Linked DNA regions of Homo sapiens: regions 2 and 3 are each linked to region 1. The links are contacts of gene promoters, found by promoter capture Hi-C in human tissues and cell types (Jung and others, 2019). All regions are on one chromosome and are shown on one strand. The core of a region is centred on a gene start or on the middle of the fragment in contact, and the rest is flanking DNA. Distances in the headings are between cores, read along the strand shown.

Region 1 (4,121 bases), core at 686-3,185:
CAATTATAACCCAATAAAGCTGAAAAAATATAGAAAAAAGATGAGACAAAAAGTAGTAAACTGAAATAAAACAAAAGGGGGTGGTATAGAGAAAGTTTACTCATCTTTCAACTTTGACAGTAGTTATAAATGGTCCCCCAAACCTCATTATCTCAGAAAAGTCGCCACTGAAAGTTGGAGGCTTTGTTCTATACAACTTGTAAGTTGCATGATGCATTTTTAACACCGGCCTACATTGCCCCAAGATCTGAGTCCTTGTCTAGTCACTTTTGAGATGCTTACCGTGGTGGGAACTTCCTTGGTAGCTTCCTGGTACACACGCTGTTCCTTGACCAAGTTCCTGGGGAAATAACCCACGACTCCCATCTCGTCCTGGCCATCACCATAAACCTAAGTGCCCAGAAGAATAGCAATCAGGAAAAAGCTGATGCTGAGTGTCTTCTGAGAAACTCGCAGGCGTCCTCTTTGCTGATAGTGAGAATCATAGCTGCCAATACCTCCCTTTCACTCCGGGGTCCAGGGGGCGCTGCGGCAAATCCGAAGTTTACTTGGAGCACTAAGTTAACCCGCAGGAATTGTGCATCTACTGTTTAGTGGCCCAGTCTTATTTCGCTACTTTAGCATGACTTTATTTTACGCAATCTTGTGAGTTGCCTGAAATCTTTTTTGAACCCATAAATAAATATATAAAGACAGTACATTTTTTTAAAGTACTGTAGACACTTATTTTAAATGATGCAAATTTCTCAGTTTTCAACAATTCAAATGAACAGACTTAAATGGCTTTAAATTTAATCCTTCATTAATTTAGAACTTACCTTTAGGGTTGCAGATGAGGACAGAAAATCATCCCTGCTTCATCCCTCCCCAGGGACCGCCCCTGTATATTTTAACTGAAGAACGCTGATTCTTTCGAATTAATTAGGGTGCAAAGTTTCCTAAAAGAATATTGATACTTAGACTCACTGCCAACACACATGCCTTCTACTTGGCAAATCTTCTCAGACGTTTTCGGATAAGATTCAAATTCTTTGGGATGTTTAAGCCCCCATGTATTTGACTCTTTTTTTACCAAAATATCACATTAACCTACATTTGGTTTTGTTACGAAATTGATCTTTCTTTCTTTAAAATGCAATAGCAAATATACCTGAATTTTTGCATTTCCATCTACAATCACTACATGGTTCTTAACAACTAGTATTAAGCATTAAAATAGGTTGAAGGTAGGTAATCAAGGAAAGGTTAAGAGCAATATTCGTCAATAGGTGTTTAAATTATCTTACACTGCCAGCCCAAAATTCTCCAGCTCCATTTTCTTTTACCAGCTTTGAGTACACATAGATCTGCTGCCCTTTTTTAACGTTAATGAATCTACAGTCCGGGGCATTATAATCTTCTTGAGCACTAGCCAGAGAAATAGTATCTGGAAGAAAAAAAATTTAAATGATTACATTTTAGGCTCCTGAATTTTATAACAGTAAAAGGCAATGTATATTAGAAAAACTAGAAAATCAGAGTGACTGATAATTCCCAGTTCATAGCTGGTGTCTATCCAAGAGAAAGAAGACAGCCAAGATATTAAAGCTGCAACAAAACTCAGCCAAGTGAATTCTCCGTAGTAAGATACCAAACATGCAGACCAGAAGAAACAAAGCTGATAACATACACATTGGAGAAGATTCACTTCAAAGTATAATTCGATTTTATGCTATTAGTGGATATATTTTCAATTATGTAATAGAAAGATAATGAAAAGCATAAAAAAGTCCTTACAGACACACTCATCATCTGCACAGAGCTTCTTGGAAGCTAGACGGTCCATAAATATTCCATGCACAGCACATACAGCCACAAGACCCGGGAGGAAAAGTAACAATATTCTTGCCATCTTCCTTTTTTCTGTTTTAACTTGAACTCTGACTGGAAGCGGGGACTGACTTCAGTGGTTCCTGCCTTTTATGTGAAAGCCAGAGCTCTGGGTAAATACCCTGGCCAATTAGAAGGGCCTACCACCCCTCCGTTTTCATAACAGGCTGCTCGGCTTCAGGGGCTATTTAGCGTCTGATTTTCCAAACAGAGTCAAACTCTGTGTCTTTCTATACACAGATAATATCCAAAATGGTCCACTATTGTTAAAGCCGCTTTAGCAGTGGTCTATTGTATCAATCAGTAGGGCTTTGCTGAGAGGACTATGAGAATTTCAAACCATTTTTAGTTTTAATTCACCCCTAATTTTCCTTCAGCTTATGAGCAAAGACATACTAGTTGTAGGAATTTGTTGAAAATGTGAGATCTATAGCACAAATAATTTGATTTAAACAAATTCAATTAATAAATCTGGATTTACGTAATAGATAAATGAAAGATTCTTATGCTTACAAATCTTTCATGATAGGATTCTTAGAAGGCATGCCTGTCCCAGGCTAGAGATGAATTCTAACATACTAATTGATGCCCCATTTAGACCCTACCAGTGGGGAAAGAGATGGGTGGGTTGGGAAAAATAGGTCAATCTTTCCCCTACCTCTTCTCTCTAAGACTTTTGCAATTCAGTCTCAAATGCTCAAGGGTGACAGGTCAAAGAGAAGAGAGTGAAGTTACAAGTTTATGTTACCTGGAACTTCCTGCTTCTGAGCATGTTTCCCATGGGGAGAGGAGCACTCCTAGAGGCACCAAAGTGGAACCGCCAGTCCCTAGCTCCGTCTATTCAGCAAATATTTACTGAGCACTTACTGTGCCAGGTATAGTTCTGGGCACTAAAGATATAGCAGTAAATTTAAAAAAAATATTTTGGCCCCAAGTGTTGCTTTCTATTAGAAGAGACAGACAGTAAGTTACTGCTTTTTATAGGGTGTTTGAGGCTGGCATCTCTCCCATAAGGTGGCCCTTCCCCTGTTCTTATCCATTGCTTCTAGAATAGAGATCCTCTCAGGATGCCTTCTCCACCTTGGTTGATGATGTGACTTCGGAGCAGTGCCTTCTCCCCCAACCCCAAAGTCGTAACCTCATAAAATGAGGGACAAGAATTTAACTTACTAAATAATTTTGTGCAATACAATTTCCCAAGGGATAAATGGGTAAGGCAAAATATAATAAAAAGGTTTTTTGTTTTGGGTATATGTGTGTGTGTGATAGAGTTGTATTGGTTTGAGTGCATCTGTGTGTGTATGTAAAAGAGTTTTGGTGTGGGTATGGGTGTGGGTATGTGTGGCTGTGTGTGAGTGTGTGTGTGTGGCTGTGTGTGTATGTGTGTGTGACTTTCAAGGGAGGATCTTTTATATAGCTGGTCCTGATTGGAAAGTCTGTTTTATTCATACCTTCATTATAGACAAGGAAACTGAGGCACAGCAAATGCCAGAGTGGTCTTTTTGTTTTTTGTTGCTTTTTTTTTTTTTTTTTTTTTCCGAGATGGAGTATTGCTCTGTCACCCAGGATGGAGTGCACTGGTGCAATCTCGGCTCACTGCACCCTCTGTCTCCAGGGTTCAAGCAATTCTGCTGCCTCAGCCTCCCAAGTAGCTGGGCTGGCAGGTGTGCACCACCATGCCCAGCTAATTTTTGTATTTTTAGTAGAGACGGGGTTTCACCATATTGGCCAGCCTGGTCTCAAACTCCTGACCTCAAGTGATCCGCCCTCCTCAGCCTCCCAGAATGCTGGGATTACAGGCATGAGCCACCGCACCTGTCCTAAAGTGGTCATTTTGAACCATCCTATCTAAAGGTTACCAGAGGGATCATGGTTCAATGCTATTTCAATTCATTGTTGTCAACTTGGAATTGACAAATTAGAATAAATCATTTATTTCCTGTTTCACATCAAGGAAAGATTGAATTCGATATTATTTTTGAAAGCAGAATGCCTTTCCAATTTTTCCCCTGTAATCAATCTAAAGGTCTAAATTTCTGGGAAAACTAAAGCATTGATTAAATCTTCTTAATCCTGATTGCGCAGCTGTTTTATGGACTGTTCCAGTCTCAAACCAGCCCTCAGCATAGGAGAGTTAAAAGACAATTGTCATTTAAGAGGCACTTGAAGAAATGGGGACTGCAAAAACTCCCCATTGGGGAGCATATACAGATCCCCAAAAGCAGGATAAAATGATTAAAAACAAAAAGCAA
Region 2 (4,121 bases), core at 758-3,257, 240 kb after region 1:
TATATAATTTACATATTTATAAACACACCGTATGCAGTTTTATAAGCTATGTAAGTTAACTGATATTAATGTTATACTTGCCCCAAAATACAGAGGAGTAAAAACTAGGAATTATTGCAAGAACTTTCTTGTTCTGTGTTTTCTCCAGATTTAGATCATTCTTCTGTTTTCTTTTTTTTTTTTTTTTTTTTTTTTTTTTTGAGATGGAATCTCACTCCGTCGCCCAGGCTAGAGGGCAGTGGTGCGATCTCAGCTCGCTGCAAGCTCTGCCTCCTGGTTTCAAGTGATTCTCCTGCCTCAGCCTCCCAAGTAGATTACAGGTGTGCACCACCACGCCCTGCTAATTTTTGTATTTTTAGTAGAGACGGGGTTTCACCATGTTGGCGAGGCTGGTCTCGAACTTCTGACCTTAGATGACCCGCCTGCCTCGGCCTCCCAAAGTGCTGGGATTACAGGCGTGAGCCACTGTGCCTGGCCTGTTTTTTTTTTTTTTTTTTTTTTTTCTTATTTCTTAGTGAGAGCTCTGTTCATTGCCTGCCAAACCTGTGGCATTTTTGAGATGTAGAGACACTAGTGGAAGATGATTGAGGGCTTCCTGCTGGCACACATGTGGTGTCTGTAATGCTGAAGGTTTGGAGGTTCATGGAAGTCGTGTGTTAGAAGACAGATCTTTCCAGAATAAATTATTTCAGGACATGTAACCTCACTGCTTACATCCAGGCTCTTCCTTTACACAAGAAGTCAGTAAGTGCTGTTCGGGAAGTCTTCTCCGAAAAGGGAAGAACAAATGAGAGGAACAAACAGCTAATTTCGAGAGTTTCACATTTCCTTTTATCATTACTTCTCACTTCCTCCTTTCCTACTGTGCCTTTGGAAAAAAAAAACAAAACTTCCAAAAGTGAAATTTGTATGTTGATTCCCTAGTAACTATTTTATGTAAGTCAAACATTTATAAAGCACTCACAAATTACAAGTGTTTTTCTCCAATCTTATAGTTGAGTGCTGCTTGGGTATCCTTTCTTCATTTTAAAGTAAGAACCAAAAATACGACGTAAGACTCATTTTTCCTTGTTAAGAATTAGTACTGATTTAATGGTACAAAGAAAAAACAATCTCTGAACACAGTCATGCTTTCTTTTATTTTTTTGGGTGTGGGGGTTGAGTGAAGGTAGGGAGGGAACATGTGAATAAAGCATTGATGCTCTGCCTTGGTTTCCTAGCAAGATCATTTTGCCTGATTTTTACTATATTCTGAGGTTCATCAGCTTTTTAAGGTTGACTGAAACATGAACATTATTGAACGTTATACCCACATTGTATAAATAATATGGTGTATTAAAATTTTCCATCGAGGAAGGCCAGGGTAGGGGTTACTCTGTCAAAGGAGGGACATAGCATGTGGTTTTTTTTTTTTTTTTTTTTTTTTAAACGTAGTTTTGCTCTTGTTGCCTAGGCTGGAATGCAATGGCGCAATCTTGGCTCACTGCAACCTCTGCCTCCCAGGTTCAAGCGATTCTCCTGCCTCAGCCTACCCAGTAGCTGGGATTACAGGCATGTGCCACCACACTCAGCTAACTTTTTGGGTTTTTAGTAGAGACACAGTTTCACCATGTTGGCCAGGCTGGTCTCAAACTCCTGACCTCAGGTGATCCACCCGCCTCGGCCTCCCAAAGTGCTGGGATTACAAGTGTGAACCACCGCACCCGGCCAGCATGGATTTTAATGTGGTCTTGTTACCTAAGTTTTTAAGGCAATTATTAACTACCGTGGGGATTGCTAAGTTTTTCTTGGTGTTTTTTTGCCTGGTGTGTATTTCACCTACCTTGTTCATTTGAGCATGTATTTTTAACATTTATTGTACAGTTATAAACTGTCTTATTTAAATGTTAGAAATTAAGTTTCCTTGTTTGTAAGCCATGATTTAACTAACAACTGATAACCGTATATTATCAGAGTCCCAGCCTGTATAAATCAGAAGGCTCAATCATCTCATTTCAGAGAGTAGAAAGCAGCCCTGGAGGGGGTATATGGCGTGGGCTGTGGTAGGCCAGGGGTTGGCATACAGGTCACTTGAGTCTAACTTCATGCCAGCAAATTGCAAATTCAGTCATCAGTTGCTTTTATTTTGAGTGACAGCTGTGACATTGGTCTTTCCCATGCAGGGAGATTCTGGCTTAATACCTCGGATCTGTGAAGGACTCTTCAGTCGGATAAATGAAACCACCAGATGGGATGAAGCTTCTTTTCGAACTGAAGTCAGGTAGGGCCTGTGGCCTGGGTAACTGTGTGTGAGCTTGATTAGAGTCAATGCTGGTTGGCCTGCATTTAGGTGCTGGAAATGGATAAGGTCTTTAGATTCCTAAAGAAAAAGTCTTCCCTTTTCCCCTCCTGTGATTATGGTTTGGGGATAAAGCTTAAAACACATAAGTTTTTAGTGATTTTCTTGGGTACAGTTTGGATAAAGATTTGGGAGCTGGCAGAAATAACAGCTTGGGCAGAAACTAATGTGGGATGTTCATCTCAAATGGAGTGAGCTTCTGACTTTTAAGTGTATACCAATTACTTGCTTCATTCTTTTAGCTTAGTAAGGTTTATATTATTCTTTGTGTTGGTTGGATCATTATAAATCTAATCTACAAGTAAATCTGAGTGGTTGAGGTGCTTTTTCCTCCTTGAAATTAAACCTGTGAGGGGAGCCAGTCTCTTCGGTAGTTTCAAGGGCAGACATGGCAATATAGGATTTTTACACCTACTTGACTGCTTTGTGGTCTTGGACAAGTTATTTGAATCACACTAAACCTCCCTTGCCTAACCTATAAAATGAGGATAGTAGTGGTACCTATCTCTGGGTATTGTGGAGATTCAATGAAATAATCCATGTCTAGTACTTAGCATGGTACAGGAAGTCCTCACTTAATGTACCTTCCTTTTTTTTTTTGGAGATGGAGTCTTACTCTGTCACCCAGGCTGGGGTGCAGTGGCACACTCTTGGCTCATTGCAACCTCCACCTCCCAGGTTCAAGTGATTCTCCTGCATCAGCCTCCTGAGTAGCTGGGATTACAGGTGTCCGCTACCACACCCAGCTAATTTTTATATTTTTAGTAGATGTGGGGTTTCACCGTGTTGGTCAGGCTGGTCTTGAACTCCTGACCTCAAGTGATCCATCTGCCTCGGCCTCCCAAAGTGTATTACAGACGTGAGCCACCACCCCTGGCCTAATGTCGCTTCTTGATACAGTCTTGGAAATCGTGACTTTAAGTGAAACAACATATAATGAAACCAGTTCTTTTTCTCGTCAACATTATAGCAATATGATGTTGAAGGAAGCATTGTTATTTGAGGACCCACTGTATGTCCTTTCCCTTAAAGTTGCACTTTCCAAGAACCTGTCAATGACCTTAAGTGAGGACTCATTGTACCTGATACACAGTCACCACTCATAAATGGTAACTGCTGCTGTGGCCATTTATGTCAGCAGGTTGCTGCTGTTATGTGTTGTTACTGATATTAATGTCTGAAATCATTTTTCTGAATTCAATTTTATTTTAAATTTTTAGCTACTTAGAAATTTATAACGAACGTGTGAGAGATCTACTTCGGCGGAAGTCATCTAAAACCTTCAATTTGAGAGTCCGTGAGCATCCCAAAGAAGGCCCTTATGTTGAGGGTAAGAGTAGATATTTCACAGCCATATTCTTTTTGTGATCTATGTAAAAATAACACTTTCAATGAAAAAATATAGCATAATGGTGAGCTTTTAAAAATTTATTTAATTTTGGAATTTTATTATAGTAAGAATGTCATGAGCTGTCACTACATGATGTTCCGTTAGTGAATTTATACTTCACTGGCCATCCGTTGATTTTATGAGGCTTACCAATAGATTTCCTCTGTCTTTAAGAAATCTCTGGAATTTTCTTTTCCAAATGTAAGGCAAGGTAAGCAAACCTGCAATCTGTCTCTCTAAATGGCATTGCATTTTTGCAGTGTATCTTTACTGACCCTAATGGTGATATATGACAATAAAGATATTCTGAACCTCTTGCGTCTTCGGAAGTGTGTTTGGAGGATTTCCTCTGTGGGTTTCAGCATCTGTGTTGTGATACGCTCGTTGTGGCAC
Region 3 (4,121 bases), core at 989-3,488, 200 kb after region 1:
TACATAACTAAATAATGAATAGACAAAGTCTACTAGTCACTGAGTTCTAAGTTCTGCTGTGTAGATAGTAAAGTACAGTAGGTGTCTGGAGAAAGGAACATCAATGTGAGCTTATGTTTACAAGCAAGGTGTTTTGGGGGAAGTTGAGCTATTGAGGTCCAAATAGGCTTAGCTGGTGAACAGTAGATACTCTCTTAGGCTCAATGTCTGTCTCTCCATTGGGCTCAATAAAAGCCACAGAGCTTTTCTTGGCTAGAGATGAGTAAGGGTACGATCCCCACCCTCAAGTAGCTCATGATCTTGTGGGAACAACAGAAACAAAGAAAGCCTCACAAGTTCTCTAGTTAATAATGTTGCATTCAAGGCGTGACAGCGTGGGGGTCAGGAGGCATTGAGTAGAGCTCCTTGGGAGGGCTGGAGAAACACCCTAGAGGACATCAGCACTGAGGGCAGGGCTCCCTGGCAGGATGAGTCAGCCAACAGACAAGGCTGGCAGTAGCATTTTAAGCAGAAAGCGTACAGAGACCCCAGGCTCTGGAGTATGACTGTGAGCTACAAAGTCTCACGAAATGGCTGAAACTTCAGATGGGTGGTGAGAGTGGAGACTGGAGAGGTGGGAGGCCACATTAGAAATTAAAATAGAGGCCGGGTACGGTGGCTCATGCCTGTAATCCCAGCACTTTGGGAGGCCGAGGTGGGTGGATCACTTGAGGTCAGGAGTTCGAGACCAGCCTGACCAACACGATGAAACCCTGTCTCTACTGAAAATACAAAAATTAGCTGGGTGTAGTGGCAGGCACCTGTAATCCCAGCTACTCAGGAGGCTGAGGCAGGAGAATTGCTTGAACCCAGAAGGTTGCAGGGAGCCAAGATCACACCACTGCACTCTGTCTTAAAAAAAAATAATAAATTAAAATAGAAAGTTAAAACATAGGAATATATAAGCACATATTTCCTTAGCTATCAGAAATGTGAGTGTGAAAAAGACAAATAATATGCTGGTGTCATAATGAAAATAATTTTAACCTTGCAGAGCCCCCCAAGACCTTTAAAAACCTCTGGGCTGCGTGTCAGGATACAGTGGTCTCCAAGCTAGGCACAGTTCTTGCCTTTGTTGTACTGGATGCTGTGGTGCTGTGGAAGCCCATGGTGGGGGGTTGGGTCTAACAGACTTGTGGCATCAGGAAGGGTACTTGGAGAGACAGACCTGAAGTGGAGACTAGCCTGGGACAACAGGTGTAGTGGTGGATGGAGCAGCATGTGGGAGGCCCAGAGGCCTCACCTGAAAACCTCAACGAAGCTCATAATGGCTGCGTGTTAATATTGCATATGCTGGGATGATACCAGCAGTTTGAGTTCTCTGGCTTCAGCGTGATATGATTTTATCCACTTGTTTATTTTCAGAGGCACATGTAGCTGTTCTCAATTCCCTTCTCTGTATGACTTATAGGAAGCTAAAGGCTTCCTTGTGTTAGGGAGCTTCCTATTTCAAGTGCTGAGCTGGGTTTGTCAAGCTTTGAAAATGCAGACAGAGCCATGAAACCTAAGGGGGACTCAGAGGAAGTGTCCATGTGCAGGAGAGACAAGGCTGAATTAAAAGGCATGATTAATCACAAAAGAGTGGAAGAGTGATGCTTGAGAGTTGAGGACGTGAGTAAAACAGAAGTAGAACTGCTCATTTGATGTCATCACGTTATCTCAAGATGAGCCCTCTTGGCCTCAGACAGTGGGTAGCATTACATTATATGTTAGCTCCGCGCCCCCACGCCCACCCTCCTTCTTTGAAATGATGTCTAAATTAGAGGTGTAACTGTCCCACCAGGTGCAACTTGAGCCTTCCTTTGCCCTCCTGTAGCTGTCGTGGGAGGGGGGCCTGCTTTCTTGGGCACAGACTGTTTGGTCAGCTGAGCCACAGAAATGAGGCCAGGCCTGTGTTGCTCTCTGTCTATGCTTGATTGCAAGGAACACTGATGATATCAGAGGGCTTTCTTACCTCAAGCCCTTCTGGCTTAAGGACAAGGTTATTTCTTTCATTTCTGTCTGCAAACTGTGGTAGTGTATTCGATTTCAAGGATTCTGGGATGAATTCTTCAATGATAAGAACCTGCTATTATTGTCCCTGCTTTACAGCTCCAGGGATTGGCAGCCTCATTCTTCAAAAGTTGCACACCTTTAGGGCCTTGGGAGGTACAGGCACCAGCAAGGAGTCAGAAGGAATGAAAGCTGGAGAGATGCGGCCCACACTGGAAAGACAGGAGGAAAGGAGAGAGAAAGCGCCTCGGCCAGGCACAGTGGCTCATGCCTGTAATCCCAGCACTTTGGGAGGCTGAGGCGGGAGATCACCTGAGGTCAGGAGACTGAGACCAGCTTGACCAACATGGTGAAACCCCATCTCTACTAAAAATACAAAACTAGCCGGGCATGGTGGCGAGTGCCTGTAATCTCCGCTACTTAGGAGGCTGAGGCAGGAGAATTGCTTGAACCAGGAGGCGGAGGTTGCAGTGAGCTGAGATCGTGCCATTGCACTCCAGCCTAGGCAACAAGAGCAAAACTGCATCTCAAAAAAAAAAAAAAAAGAAGAGAAAGCCCCTCACTGGTGGTTTCTTCACTAAATCCTAAATAAGAAATTAGAAAACCTGGACAGTCAAACCTAATGTGCTCCTAGCTGGGTTAAATCATGTTTTGTTCAAAGTAAGCTTGATTATTTTCATCACATCAGCCAGCATTTTCATTCCTGTGTTTTGAGAGAAGTGGGAAATCCAGGCTCTCATGTAAAATATTATTTTAAATATGTTGGCAACTAATTAAAAATGTTTTAGAACACCCGTTCTAGCCCTGGGATGCTATTTTAAAACTTCTAGTTTAGAATGCATGTTTCGGCCAGGCGTGGTGGCTCATGCCTGTAATCCCAGGACTTTGGGAGGTCATGGTGGATCACTTGAACCCAGGAGTTTGAGTCCAGCCTGAGCAATGTGGTGAAAACCCGTCTCTACAAAAAATAGAAAAAATTAGCTGGACATGGTGGCATGTACCTGTAGTCTTAGCTACTTGGGAGGCTGAGGTGGGAGGATCATCTGAGCTTAGGGAGGTTGAGGCTACAGTGAGCTCTGATCGCACCACTGCACTCCAGCCTGGGTGACTGAGTGAACCCTGTGTCAAAAAAAAAAAAAAAAAAAAAAAGAATGTTTCATGTGTTTTAACAAGCTCTCTAGGGGGAAAAAAAACGAAAATGATATTTCTAGTTCTAGATCTAGATCCCTGAGGAATCGCCACACTGACTTCCACAATGGTTGAACTAGTTTACAGTCCCACCAACAGTGTAATAGTGTTCCTATTTCTCCACATCCTCTCCAGCACCTGTTGTTTCCTGACTTTTTAATGACTGCCATTCTAACTGGTGTGAGATGGTATCTCATAGTGGTTTTGATTTGCATTTCTCTGATGGCCAGTGATGATGAGCATTTTTTCATGTGTTTTTTGGCTGCATAAATGTCTTCTTTTGAGAAGTGTCTGTTCATGTCCTTCGCCCACTTTTTGATGGGGTTGTTTGTTTTTTTCTTGTAAATTTGTTTGAGTTCATTGTAGATTCTGGATATTAGCCCTTTGTCAGATGAGTAGGTTGCGAAAATTTTCTCCCATTTTGTAGGTTGCCTGTTTACTCTGATGGTAGTTTCTTTTGCTGTGCAGAAGCTCTTTAGTTTAATTAGATCCCATTTGTCAATTTTGTCTTTTGTTGCCATTGCTTTTGGTGTTTTGGACATGAAGTCCTTGCCCATGCCTATGTCCTGAATGGTAATGCCTAGGTTTTCTTCTAGGGTTTTTATGGTTTTAGGTCTAACGTTTAAATCTTTAATCCATCTTGAATTGATTTTTGTATAAGGTGTAAGGAAGGGATCCAGTTTCAGCTTCCTACATATGGCTAGCCAGTTTTCCCAGCACCATTTATTAAATAGGGAATCCTTTCCCCATTGCTTGTTTTTCTCAGGTTTGTCAAAGATCAGATAGTTGTAGGTATGCGGCGTTATTTCTGAGGGCTCTGTTCTGTTCCATTGATCTATATCTCTGTTTTGGTACCAGTACCATGCTGTTTTGGTTACTGTAGCCTTGTAGTATAGTTTGAA

The links. The method cuts DNA at HindIII sites, captures the fragments that hold promoters and counts their contacts. A contact is called where the count stands out against the background at its distance.
Region 2: a contact is called between a fragment that was not itself captured here and the fragment with the promoter of OTOR in region 1, in 1 of the 25 tissues and cell types used here (pancreas).
Region 3: a fragment that was not itself captured here is called in contact with the fragment with the promoter of OTOR in region 1 in 2 of the 25 tissues and cell types used here (heart right ventricle and hippocampus).

Annotation. Positions count from the first base shown.
Region 1 is chr20:16,746,172-16,750,292 of GRCh38, reverse strand. It overlaps OTOR (otoraplin), which reads right to left and starts at 1,935. Exons shown (of 4, transcript NM_020157.4): 1 at 1,777-1,935; 2 at 1,287-1,426; 3 at 283-390. The coding sequence starts at 1,891. The HindIII fragment of the contact is 9,309 bases long and covers 1-4,121 here.
Region 2 is chr20:16,510,965-16,515,085 of GRCh38, reverse strand. It overlaps KIF16B (kinesin family member 16B), which reads left to right. Exons shown (of 26, transcript NM_024704.5): 5 at 2,163-2,260; 6 at 3,559-3,668. Among named protein-coding and RNA genes, the nearest start is that of KIF16B, 60 kb to the left of the region's middle. The HindIII fragment of the contact is 3,147 bases long and covers 434-3,580 here.
Region 3 is chr20:16,549,588-16,553,708 of GRCh38, reverse strand. All of the region lies in intron 1 of KIF16B (kinesin family member 16B), which reads left to right. Among named protein-coding and RNA genes, the nearest start is that of KIF16B, 22 kb to the left of the region's middle. The HindIII fragment of the contact is 5,263 bases long and covers 1-4,121 here.